3 separate regions of the Homo sapiens genome follow, and all the other regions are linked to region 3. The links are contacts of gene promoters, found by promoter capture Hi-C in blood cells and fetal thymus (Javierre and others, 2016). All regions are on one chromosome and are shown on one strand. Each heading gives the region's core, a stretch centred on a gene start or on the middle of the fragment in contact. The rest is flanking DNA. Distances are from core to core; before and after follow the strand shown. Region 1 overlaps LOC105369544 (a long non-coding RNA gene). Region 2 overlaps ZNF202 (zinc finger protein 202). Region 3 holds the start of OR10S1 (olfactory receptor family 10 subfamily S member 1).

Evidence for each region. Contacts are between HindIII fragments. The CHiCAGO score rates a contact against its expected background, and 5 or more counts as called.
Region 1: a contact is called between a fragment that was not itself captured here and the fragment with the promoter of OR10S1 in region 3, in 1 of 17 cell types (neutrophils). The highest score is 5.2, in neutrophils.
Region 2: a fragment that was not itself captured here is called in contact with the fragment with the promoter of OR10S1 in region 3 in 1 of 17 cell types (endothelial precursors); the score reaches 5.3 in endothelial precursors.

What each region holds. Positions count from the first base shown.
Region 1 is chr11:123,810,730-123,814,860 of GRCh38, reverse strand. All of the region lies in intron 2 of LOC105369544 (a long non-coding RNA gene), which reads right to left. Among named protein-coding and RNA genes, the nearest start is that of OR6M1, 6.4 kb to the right of the region's middle. The HindIII fragment of the contact is 4,432 bases long and covers 16-4,131 here.
Region 2 is chr11:123,735,956-123,739,634 of GRCh38, reverse strand. The region is part of intron 3 of ZNF202 (zinc finger protein 202); the gene reads left to right. Among named protein-coding and RNA genes, the nearest start is that of ZNF202, 3.9 kb to the left of the region's middle. The HindIII fragment of the contact is 2,446 bases long and covers 536-2,981 here.
Region 3 is chr11:123,975,404-123,979,254 of GRCh38, reverse strand. OR10S1 (olfactory receptor family 10 subfamily S member 1) reads left to right here and starts at 1,474. Exons shown (of 1, transcript NM_001004474.2): 1 at 1,474-2,594. The coding sequence starts at 1,591. The coding sequence ends at 2,559. The HindIII fragment of the contact is 7,911 bases long and covers 1-3,851 here.

The DNA.
Region 1 (4,131 bases), core at 982-3,481, 170 kb after region 3:
CCCCAGAAAAAAGCTTCAGAATGTTTTTAGGAGTACAAAAATATCCTGCACCCAAGAAGGCAAATTTCACAGCATTTCGTATCCAATCAAAAAATTAACAGATATATAAAGAAGCAGGAAAACAAACTCACAAGTCAATCAACTGAAATTGATCCGGAAATGGCAGAGACAATAGAATTATCAAAGACATTGAGACTGTTACTATGTCTACATTCCACTTGTTGTTAAGTAGAGATGAAAAGTACAATGTCTGAGATGAAAAATTACACAGGATAAAATTATCGACAGATTGGGCATTGTAGGAGAAAAATGTAATGAACTTGAACACATACCAATAAAAACAATACCTAAAGGAGAAAAGATAAAACAAAAAAAAAACCCCAGAATATCAGTGAAATGTGGTACAACTTCAAGCAAATCCCACTTAGAGTCACTGAAGTAAAATGAGAATGGAAAAAATCTGAAAAAATAGTGACCAAAAATTTTCCAAATTTGATAAAAATTATAATCTCAAAGGTTCAAGAAGCTCAACAAACCCCCAAGCAAAAGAGATACGGATAAAACTACACCAAACCACATGATAATCAAATTTCTTAAAACCATTGATAAAGAGAAGATCTTAAAGCAGAAAAAAACCCAAAATGGATATATTACATACTAAGAAACAAAGATAGATTAACAGCAGATTTCCTGTGAGAAGCAGTGCAAACCAGAAGATAGTGAAGTAACATCTTTAAAATACTGAAAGAAAAATTTGTTTCACATGTATATATATATATGTAGTTTTCTAAAATATCGCTCTATCTATATGTATATGTGTGTGTGTGTATATATATAAATATATATATATATGCAGAAAGGTTGCTAGAAAATGGAGGAATTTATCAGCTGGAGATCTGGACTTCTATCTATATGTATATGTGTGTGTGTGTACATATATAAATATATATATATGCAGAAAGGTTGCTAGAAAATGGAGGAATTTATCAGCTGGAGATCTGGACCAAGCCATGAAATAAGTGCATAGAAACAGTTGTTTAATTAGAGGAATATAGTTCAAAATTGGTACCCTAGAATTTGACATTTCAGAGATTATTTATATGTAATGGCAAGATCTAATTTACAAAAATGGAGTTGATGACTTAAGAGGAAATAATCATTGGAAATAAGATTAAGATATTCAAATTTTTTAAAGATTTAAATGTAAGAACTCAAACTATAAAATTCCTCAAAGAAAACCTATGAAATGCCCTTCTTGACAACAGCCTTGACAAAGAATTTGTGATTAAGTCCTCAAAAGAAATAGCAACAAAACAAAAATTGACAAGTGGGACCTAATTAAACTAAAGAGCTTCTGCACAGCAAAAGAAACTATCAACAGAGTAAACAGACATCCTACAGAATGGGAGAAAATATTTGCAAACTATGCATCCAACAAAGATCTAATATGTACAATCAATAAGGAACCTAAACAAATTTACAAGCAAAAGACAAACAACCCATTAAAAAAATAATTAAAAGACATGAACCGGCACTTTGCAAAAGAAAACACACAAGTGACCAACAAACATGAAAAAATGCTCAACATTACTAACCATTAGATAAATGCAAATCAAAACCATAAGAAGATACCATCTCATATCAGTCAGAATGGCTATTACTAAAAAGGCAAGAAATAACAGAGGCTGGAGAGGTTGTTGAGAAAAGGGAATGATTATACACCTCTGGTGGGAGTATACATTAGTTCAACCATTGTGGAAAGCAGTTTGGAGATTTCCCAAAGAACTTAAAACAGAATTGCCATTTAATCCAGCAATCCCATTACGGGGTATATACCCAAAGGAATGTAAATCATTCTACCATAAAGACACATGAACAAGTATGTTCACTGCAGCACTATTCACAATAGCAAAGACATGGAATCAACCTAAATGCCCATTAACTGTAGACTGGATTAAAACATGTGGTACATATACCTAATAGAATACTATGCAACTTTAAAAAAGGATGAGACCATGTCGTTTTCAGCAACGTGAATGCAGCTGGAGGCCATTATCCTAAGTGAGTTAATACAGGAACAGAAAACCAAATATTGCCTATTCTCACTTACGAGTGGGAGCTAAACTTTGAGTATATATGGCCACAAAGAAGGGAGCAACAGACACAGAGGCCTACTTGAGATTGGAGGGTGGGAGGGGGGTGAGGATGGAAACACTACTTATTGTGTACTATTTATAATACCTGGGTGACAAAATGATCTGTACACCAAATCCCCATAACATACAATTTACCTACACAACAAGCCTACACATGTACCCATGAACCTAAAATAAAAGTTAAAATAATAAAAAATAACAGATGCCAGTAAGGCTGCAGAGAAAAGGAAATGCTTATATACTGTTGGTGAGATGTAAATTAGTTCAGCCATTGTGGAAAGCAGTTTGGAGATTTCTAAAAGAACTTAAAACGACCATATGACTCTCAAAGAACTTAAAACTACCATATGACCCAGCAATCTCATTACTGAATATATACCTAGAGGAATATAAAATTGTTCTATCAGAAAGACACATGCACACATATGTTCATTGCAGCACTATTCACAATAGCAAAAGACATAGAATCAACCTAGGTGCCCGTCAATGGTGGAATAAAGAAAATGTGGTACATATACACCATGGACTACTACATGGCCATGAGAAAGAATGAAATCATATCCTTTGCAGCAACATGGCTGTAGCCAGAGGCCATTATCCTAAGTGAATTAGCATGGGAACAGAAAACCAAATACCACATGTGTTCACTTATAAGTGGGAGCTAAACATTGGGTACATGTGGACATAAAGATAGGAATAATAGACACTGAGAACTACTAGGGGGGAAAGGAGGGAGGGGTGTGTGGGCTGGAAAACTACCTATTGGGTACTATGCCCATTACCCAAGTGACGGAATCATCCATACCCCAAACCTCAGCATCGTGCAACATACCCATGTAACAAACCTGTATATGTACCCTGAAATCTAAAATAAAAGTTGAGATTATTTTTGAAAAAAAGACATTCAAGTTTTAGGTTGAATATCAACAAAAGCAAATCAAAACAGCTGAGAAAAGCTGTTCACATGAACCACTGAAAGAGTCAATTAAAAAATGACTTCCATAATGGTCTTACTTGAAGGCTCTATAGCAGTTATTTGCTTATTTCTTGAAACTCAGGCAATAAATGGCGGAATCAAAGAAAATTTATAAGATGGTATACTAGAAAAATAAAAAAGATTGTATGCTATGAGCCTCGGAGGAGTTTTATCAGAAACCAGAGAAATAATTTCTTATTGAAAGCAGAAATTGGGAGCAAAATAACAAAAACAACAAATTATTATATTATCATAAAATTAATAATATAGTATAAATATACTATATACTTATATAACAAATTTATATATAAAAGTATAAACACATTGTACACTTATGTAATGTATGTCATATAGCATATCACATAATATATAATTGATAGAATATAAATATAAAACTACATAATATTTTTATATTGTTATAATGTCCCTGCAGCTATGTAACTCTATCGCTCTTGTACATGGAAAGAAGGATGTGCGTTCAACTCAGTGGAACCAGTGTCCTCAAGTGAAAGTCAGGTTACTGTTAAGGTTTAAAAAAAAAAAAGAGGGTTTTTTAGTTAAGTAAAAAATGTTTGAAAGAATTTTCATTAAAAAAAATCAAAGAATACAGTGGAAACTTATGGAAAGTTTGTAGCCATAAGAGATAGGTCAAGAGCATGGAAGAACAGAGTTGTACAAGGCTGACTTCTGTACAAGAGCCCATCTTTTTACAATTTTTCTATTTTTAATTTTCGTGGGTACATAGTAGGTGTATATATTTATGGGGTACATGAGGTGTTTTGATAATGGCACGATGTGATTATTACACAACGGCTCATCTTTTTCAACAGGGAAAGGACAGGGAGGAAAAACATTGTGGAATTTACTATGACCCTATTTTCAACTGGAACTTTTTAAAAAATTATGCTAACGTAGACAGAGAGAGGTAGTACATAGTATCTGAAACTCTAGAATATTTACTGTTGTAGAATATTTCTGATTATATCAATAAACTTAAGA
Region 2 (3,679 bases), core at 509-3,008, 240 kb after region 3:
AGCGTACTTAAAACAACTGAATGCTATATGCCAAATTTGAGGTGAAATATTGATAAGTTCTTCCCCTTGATTTTCTTAATTCTCTTGATAGGGGCTTCACGTTTTGATCAAAATATTACACCTGTATTCTGGGCTTTTGCTGTGAATTCCTAGTATTGCTAAAATTCTGCAATTTCTTAACTACCTGTTAAGTTCCTCAAGGTCAGAGCTTCTGCTTTTTTTATCTTTCTTTGCCCAGCACCTTGAATAGTGTGGGACACGTAATTGACGCTCAGTAGATATTTGTGTATTGAACTCCATCCCTTGTCCTCCTCCCCTCTTGATGTTTTTCTCTACTGGCCTTATGCTACACAGTAAAGCAGGGCATGATTATGCCACTTGATTACCCCCAAGAGATTGGAATAAATGCTTATGCCAAATTCCTACAGCTATCCCTGTGAATGGTTTATTACCCAGGAGCCCTGACACTGGCTGATTTCTGAATTTTCAGTGCTTCTGTAATATATACTAGTTGGGGGAGGAGAAATAGAAAGCTTAAACTCAATGTGCGTTTATTGAATACCTTTTCTACTAAGGGCTCCACAAAGTGGTAGGCACTGGGAATATAAAAATGAATAAGGAGACCCTTGCTCTCGAGGGCAGGGCCCACAGTGGGGAGACAGACGTTAAGCCATGCCCACGACAAGAATGACTTCTGAGATTCCTTCTCTGGATCATGATTTAGTCTTCAGTGGAAACCTGGTACTCCTCAGATTCCTCTGGTTCAACAGGCGGGGATCCCATCCCTTATCATCTCCTCAAATGCTAAAGGACCCTTGAGCAAAGCCAGGAGGAAGTCATCTAGACGTGAAACAGGGAGTATCCACACAGGCTGTGTTAATGACAAAGCTAAAAACATAGTAAATGACTTTTGAATTTACTGCTGTTATGAATTATCTATAGCAACACCTCCGGTCAGCTCTGTTATATATGTTATTGCGTTATTTCCCATTAAATGATGGTTCCTCTGACTATCTGATTGGCATTGACTATGTTTGTTGTAGAGATTGCATACATCTAGTTTAACTCTGGCTGTCAAATGAGAGCAGTTACTCTTATCAGGATGGGTGTCAGGTTTGATGTCCCCTCCTTTTCCTGCTTCAGGTTAATTTGTCATGTTCTGTTTTAAACTGAGACATATAGCTTGACCTCCTTTATTTAGGCCATTAACTGCTCTGGGGTAGTTTTCCTGAAGGTTAAAAAGCCTAGCTTCATGATGGAGGTTAACCAACATGACCATGATGGCCAGGTGTATAAATCTGGCCTCTTAAAAATCTGTATTTGAGGCTGGGTGCAGTGGCTCACACCTGTAATCCTAACACTTTGGGAGGCCAAAGCTGGCAGATCACTTGAGCCCAGGTATTTGAGACCAGCCTGGGCAACATGGCAAGACCCCTTCTCTATAAAAAATTTAAACATTAGCTGGGCATGGTGGCATGTGCTGTAGTCCCAGATACTTAGGAGGCTGGGGTGGGAGGATGGCCTGAACCTGGGAGGCAGAGATTGCAGTGAGTTGTGATCTTGCCACTGCACTCCAGTCTTAGCAACAGAGTAAACCCTATCTCAAAACTTAAAAATCTGTGTTTGGCCCCTAGCCGTCCTCAGCTCTTGAGTAAATCTCAGCATCCTAGGCTGTTACATTATGGCCCAAATATTCAATAGAGATGCTGTATATCCTTGTTCCTCTCAAAACCCCTCCTCATCACCATCAAAAAGCTGGTTCAGTTCTCTACCTTTAGATAAAGAATCATCCCAAGACTCAACATGAGCTGCCGTGACTTGTCCAAGATGACACCTCTTTACAATGTAGAGCAGTGGACAGAACACAGGTCACCCTCCGCCGAAGGCAACTATCTACTGTCTAACATTGCCTCCTAGGCCTGCCATATATAACCATCAAAAACAGTTTAGAATAAAGTGAATTGTTACAATTTTTATTTTTCATTTTTGTGTTTACATTTACTCTCAATGACATGTTTATTCCCACCTAATATCTTGAGGCTAACCACAAAATCTGCAGCATTTCCAGACAGAAGATACTTGTGACTTCCCTGTACTATCCACTACATACTTGACCTCTTTCTCTTTCTTCCTGTCTTCCCTTTCTCTATACCTTATTGTCTTTCTTTGGAACCTCTTGTAACAAATTTTGAGCCATTTCTCCCCTCACTACTCAAATATCACTTTTATGAAGGGGCGGGGGGGAAACTTAGGTGGCAAAAATATTTTACAGAAACAGTTTTAAACATGTTTTGAAGCATACTGGTCACGTGTTAGAAGGCCAAAAGCCAGGGAATTCATTCCCTTTCATTCATTGTGCTGTCTAGGTTAAGTTTTCACAGGACTTCTTGGTACACTGAGTTTGCCTCAGATTGTCTCCTGCCAGTTACAGGGAGTGGAGAGGACTTTGATATATTGGTAATTAGAAGCATTGCTGATATGGTCTTCGGTGGGAGAACCTGTGTCTAAGGTTCCTTCTCATCTGTATTCCAACACTTTCATTTAATCCTACTTCATAAGTGCCTCCAAAGCAAGGATTTTTTTTTTGGTTTAGCATGGTTTCTTTGATATAACAATAGACCGACCAAGATTTTCCTTATGCCATCTGTTTTTTTGTAATTATGATGCAATAGAGAACTGTTTGCTTGTTTATCATTTAAATCTTGCCTTCTTCCCAAAACGATTTCAAATAGCTTGAAGGAAAATGAATAAAATATATTGAGCACCTACCCTATGCCAGACTCTATACTGAAGGGTTTCTATAGGTTATTTCATTTACTCCTTAAAACAACCACATGAGATAAGTAGTATTAGCCACATTTTTGAGGATAAGACTGAGGCTTAGGGAAATTGTGTTACAAGGCTAATAAGCGAGGTCAGGGATTCGAGGTCAGGGATTCAAACCCAGCGTGCCAAGGCCACTAACCATTATGTGGAAAGCTTAGGTAAGCGCTTGTATATAGGACAATCAAGAATAAAAGAATATGTCCATTAGAAGGATTGTACTGGGCTAATCTTTCGTTTTAAAGAACAGCAGCAGCATTGGAAAAGAGCGGTTAACAGTTTTTATTAGCCAATTTCTATTCTAGAACACTGAGAGGAGCTGTTGACAGGCCCTGGTTAGCCCCAGCAAGTAGTTGTATTAAAATTACCAAACTATAGGCCTGCATTAAGGTATAAAATAAGAATGGGGACTGGAAGGGATATAAATATCTGCTAAATATAATAATTTCAGTTCTAATCACTATTTTCTTCTGAAGATTATTTGCCAGTACATAGGCAGATCACTGTCTCTCCTTTAGGTTGATGGTATATGACTACAGACTTTGTCATTTAGGGTCCAGAAAGATCACCCTAGCTAGTAGCGTTTTAAGGTAGAGAACTAGATATTGTTTCATTGCCTGTGGTTTTCTGTTCTTGTAAGAGAATTGAGCTTGGGTCTTCACTGCCACGTGACACCTTCAGATAAGGGGCAGAGACAGCTGGCCTGAGGATTGTACAGAGGTCTTACCTTGATAGCTCCTCTCCAATCCTATGCATCCTAGGAACACTCAAGACACTAGGTTGTATCTTTGCAGATACTGTTTTAGTGTCTTCTGGAACCAAGTCTCTTACTTAATCCTGGCCTGGTTTCATATTC
Region 3 (3,851 bases), core at 225-2,724:
TTGGGCTCTGCAGTTCCTGGCATCTCTGAGCTTTTGGGTGCCCCCATATTCCCCTCGTCCAGATGCTGGTGCCCATAATGGAAACCACTTGCAGTATGCCTGGTCCAGCTATAGCCTCACATGAAGCTGGTGCCTCTGCTGGCACCTGGAGCTGCCCATCCCACCACAGCAGCAAGTGTGCCTGGCTGTGTGCAGTGGCCAGACCCCTGTGCTTGCTCACTCACACACCTCTCGCCTCTCCCACCCTTGGCAAGCATGGAATCCAGGCTGGTAGCACGAGCCAAGTGCAGCCTGCCAGGCCAAGTGGGTGAAAAGAACCCAGCAGCCATGAGCAAACTCAAGCAGAGGAACCACCAGCCACAGAGGTTTCTGTCTGGAAAAGTGACATCCTAAGGATCCTGTGACAAGATCAGAGAGAGATTATGGCAAATTGAGGAGATGAGGCAAATAGCATCCCTGGATAACAGGAGTTTCTTAGGGGATTGCAGAAGATAAAGATTTTTTTCATGATAATGGAAATAGTTTACAGATAATTCTGAATGTAGGACAGAGATACACTTTATATCTCAGGCACTAAGGAACAGTAAGAAAAGATATATTCGAATTTTTTTAAGAAAACTGGCACAAAAAAGTTGAATACTGAATCATTTGGTATATCAGGGAGTAAGGAAGAGATGGGACATAAAATACCATTGTGAAAATCTAGGTGTAAAATATGAAGAGGTGGGTTTAGGTAAAATCCACAGGAATTGAAGAGACAACACGGAAAAAAAGCAGTTTAAGGAAATTTTTCACCTAATGCAACATCTGTTAGGCTAACGAGGTGAAAGATGGAAGAATCAAAGAGAACTCTTTAAATCTCAATTACAGTCCAGTGGAAAGGCTCAACAAGAAAGGAAAAGGCAAACAATTCCCCAAATTTTGAAACAGAGCTTTACAGGAAGAACACAAAGTGTATAGAAAAAATTGTCCTGATAATTATTCAGTCTATTCTCCAAGCCTCAATTGTTACACACTTGAGGATTGTGGGTAACTGAAATTCCAAAGAACTCCTCTGGTTGAGTAATGGGTGGGGCTGCTGTGTTTCTGGCTGATGTAATAGCACCAAAACTCCAGGCAAGTCTCACCTGAAAATAGGATGCATCTCCCTGATGACACAGCAATAAGAACCTGCCTTTCTACATCTACAGCATGGCAGGGTACATAGAGTAGGAGGGCAGAGGCATCACAATTCTGGAATATTTGCAAAAAATACTCATTGAGAGTAGGATTTATAATCCATATTTTTATTGTCATTATTTAGGGAGTGCATTTCTGCAAATAATTCTTACAGTCCTTTATATACCTCACCAAAACTGCAGATTTTGTATTGAAAGATTCATTATGAAGAAATAAACAGCAAGGAAGCACTAGACTAGAGCAGAACAAAACTGTAAGATGAACTTGTACATCTTTCTCTTGCTTACTGGGTAAGACCAAGGTGGTGTGGCTTGATGGATAATGACATCTCAGGAAAGGGATACAGCTATTTATTCCATTAATGTCAGTTTTGTTGCAAAGGGGATGACTAGCCGCTCTGTGTGTGAGAAGATGACCATGACAACGGAGAACCCCAACCAGACTGTGGTGAGCCACTTCTTCCTGGAGGGTTTGAGGTACACCGCTAAACATTCTAGCCTCTTCTTCCTCCTCTTCCTCCTCATCTACAGCATCACTGTGGCTGGGAATCTCCTCATCCTCCTAACTGTGGGCTCTGACTCTCACCTCAGCTTACCCATGTACCACTTCCTGGGGCACCTCTCCTTCCTGGATGCCTGTTTGTCTACAGTGACAGTGCCCAAGGTCATGGCAGGCCTGCTGACTCTGGATGGGAAGGTGATCTCCTTTGAGGGCTGTGCCGTACAGCTTTATTGCTTCCACTTTCTGGCCAGCACTGAGTGCTTCCTGTACACAGTCATGGCCTATGACCGCTATCTGGCTATCTGTCAACCCCTGCACTACCCAGTGGCCATGAACAGAAGGATGTGTGCAGAAATGGCTGGAATCACCTGGGCCATAGGTGCCACGCACGCTGCAATCCACACCTCCCTCACCTTCCGCCTGCTCTACTGTGGGCCTTGCCACATTGCCTACTTCTTCTGCGACATACCCCCTGTCCTAAAGCTCGCCTGTACAGACACCACCATTAATGAGCTAGTCATGCTTGCCAGCATTGGCATCGTGGCTGCAGGCTGCCTCATCCTCATCGTTATTTCCTACATCTTCATCGTGGCAGCTGTGTTGCGCATCCGCACAGCCCAGGGCCGGCAGCGGGCCTTCTCCCCCTGCACTGCCCAGCTCACTGGGGTGCTCCTGTACTACGTGCCACCTGTCTGTATCTACCTGCAGCCTCGCTCCAGTGAGGCAGGAGCTGGGGCCCCTGCTGTCTTCTACACAATCGTAACTCCAATGCTCAACCCATTCATTTACACTTTGCGGAACAAGGAGGTGAAGCATGCTCTGCAAAGGCTTTTGTGCAGCAGCTTCCGAGAGTCTACAGCAGGCAGCCCACCCCCATAGTCTGTGCTATCAAAACTCACAATTTGCCTGCCAGGAAAGCAACTATTCACATCTCAAATCATTCAGGTGGAAATCAGAATAACTGAGTTGCAACTCAGTCACACACTTTCCCCCAGCTTTGGCCAAATGGTCTACCTCACTCTCTCCCTTGCAAACACTTCATCTAGAAAATGAGGAGGCTGGATTAGATGATGTCTAGAGTCTCTCCAAAATCTATGTTCTATGGTTCAGAGGTATGTGAAATGCTATTCGTATCCTCATTTGTATTAGTAAATGATTGTTTTACTTTTTATGAAATAACTTTATTAAATACATACAGAATACTGTAAACAAAAATATAAAAGGCAATGAAAAAACCTTTGTATACATATTTCCCAGCTTAGAAACCACATTTTTTAAAATGATAAAATACAAGGAGAAAAGTGATTGTCCAAGGTGACTTAGAAAGTCACATTTTCTTTATTCTCCCACTCATGGTAGTATATACTTTAGGCCACATTGAGAGATAGAAATAACATGGGTTTTGGTGTCAATTGAACCTACCAGTATTCTAATACTGATCCAACCAGGTCTAGTTGTAGAATTTTGTACAGATGTCATAATTGCAGTTTTAGTCTCCACTTTTAAGAGTAAGATTTAAAATAATTGCTTTGTAGGATATTATGAGGTCTAAATAAAATAGTTATATTAAGTGTCATGTAAAATAGGCGCTCATGTTTCTTACCAAGCTGGTTGAAGAAATCAAAGAGAGCTTATGATACAAGCTAAGGTTCAAATTGTTTCTGAAAGATTAGCAAGGTTTTAATATCTTCATTGAGTTTATAGGGCAACTACAAAAGAAAGGGCATTTCTAGACTTCAAAATTATAAAAGATAACTCAAGGTTTTAGTTAAACCAGCTTACCATACAAGAGGAAGGAGTTGTGTTGTATTCACCTAACCTATTCTATAAGATGAAAATGTCCTTGAATGCCAACCTAAAGAATTCAGATTATGCCCTAGGCATCCTACCTGTTTACTTTTCCTCCTCCTTGTCATCTATAGAAATACCTTTATCCTGAGAAGCCACTTCTTTAAATGCTAAACCATGAGATAAATTAGAAAAGAGAGACAAAAAAAGGAGAAATGGTAGAATGGCCAGTTAATAAACTATTATAACATCAGAGACATAAGATAATAAAAGTATTGCTAAACCTAGATGAAGAGACACTTTATAGAATTAGATCAGAAGTGTTTTGAAGAGAAAAAATTATAAGACTATTAGAATGGGAATCATAATTATAATCATTTTTG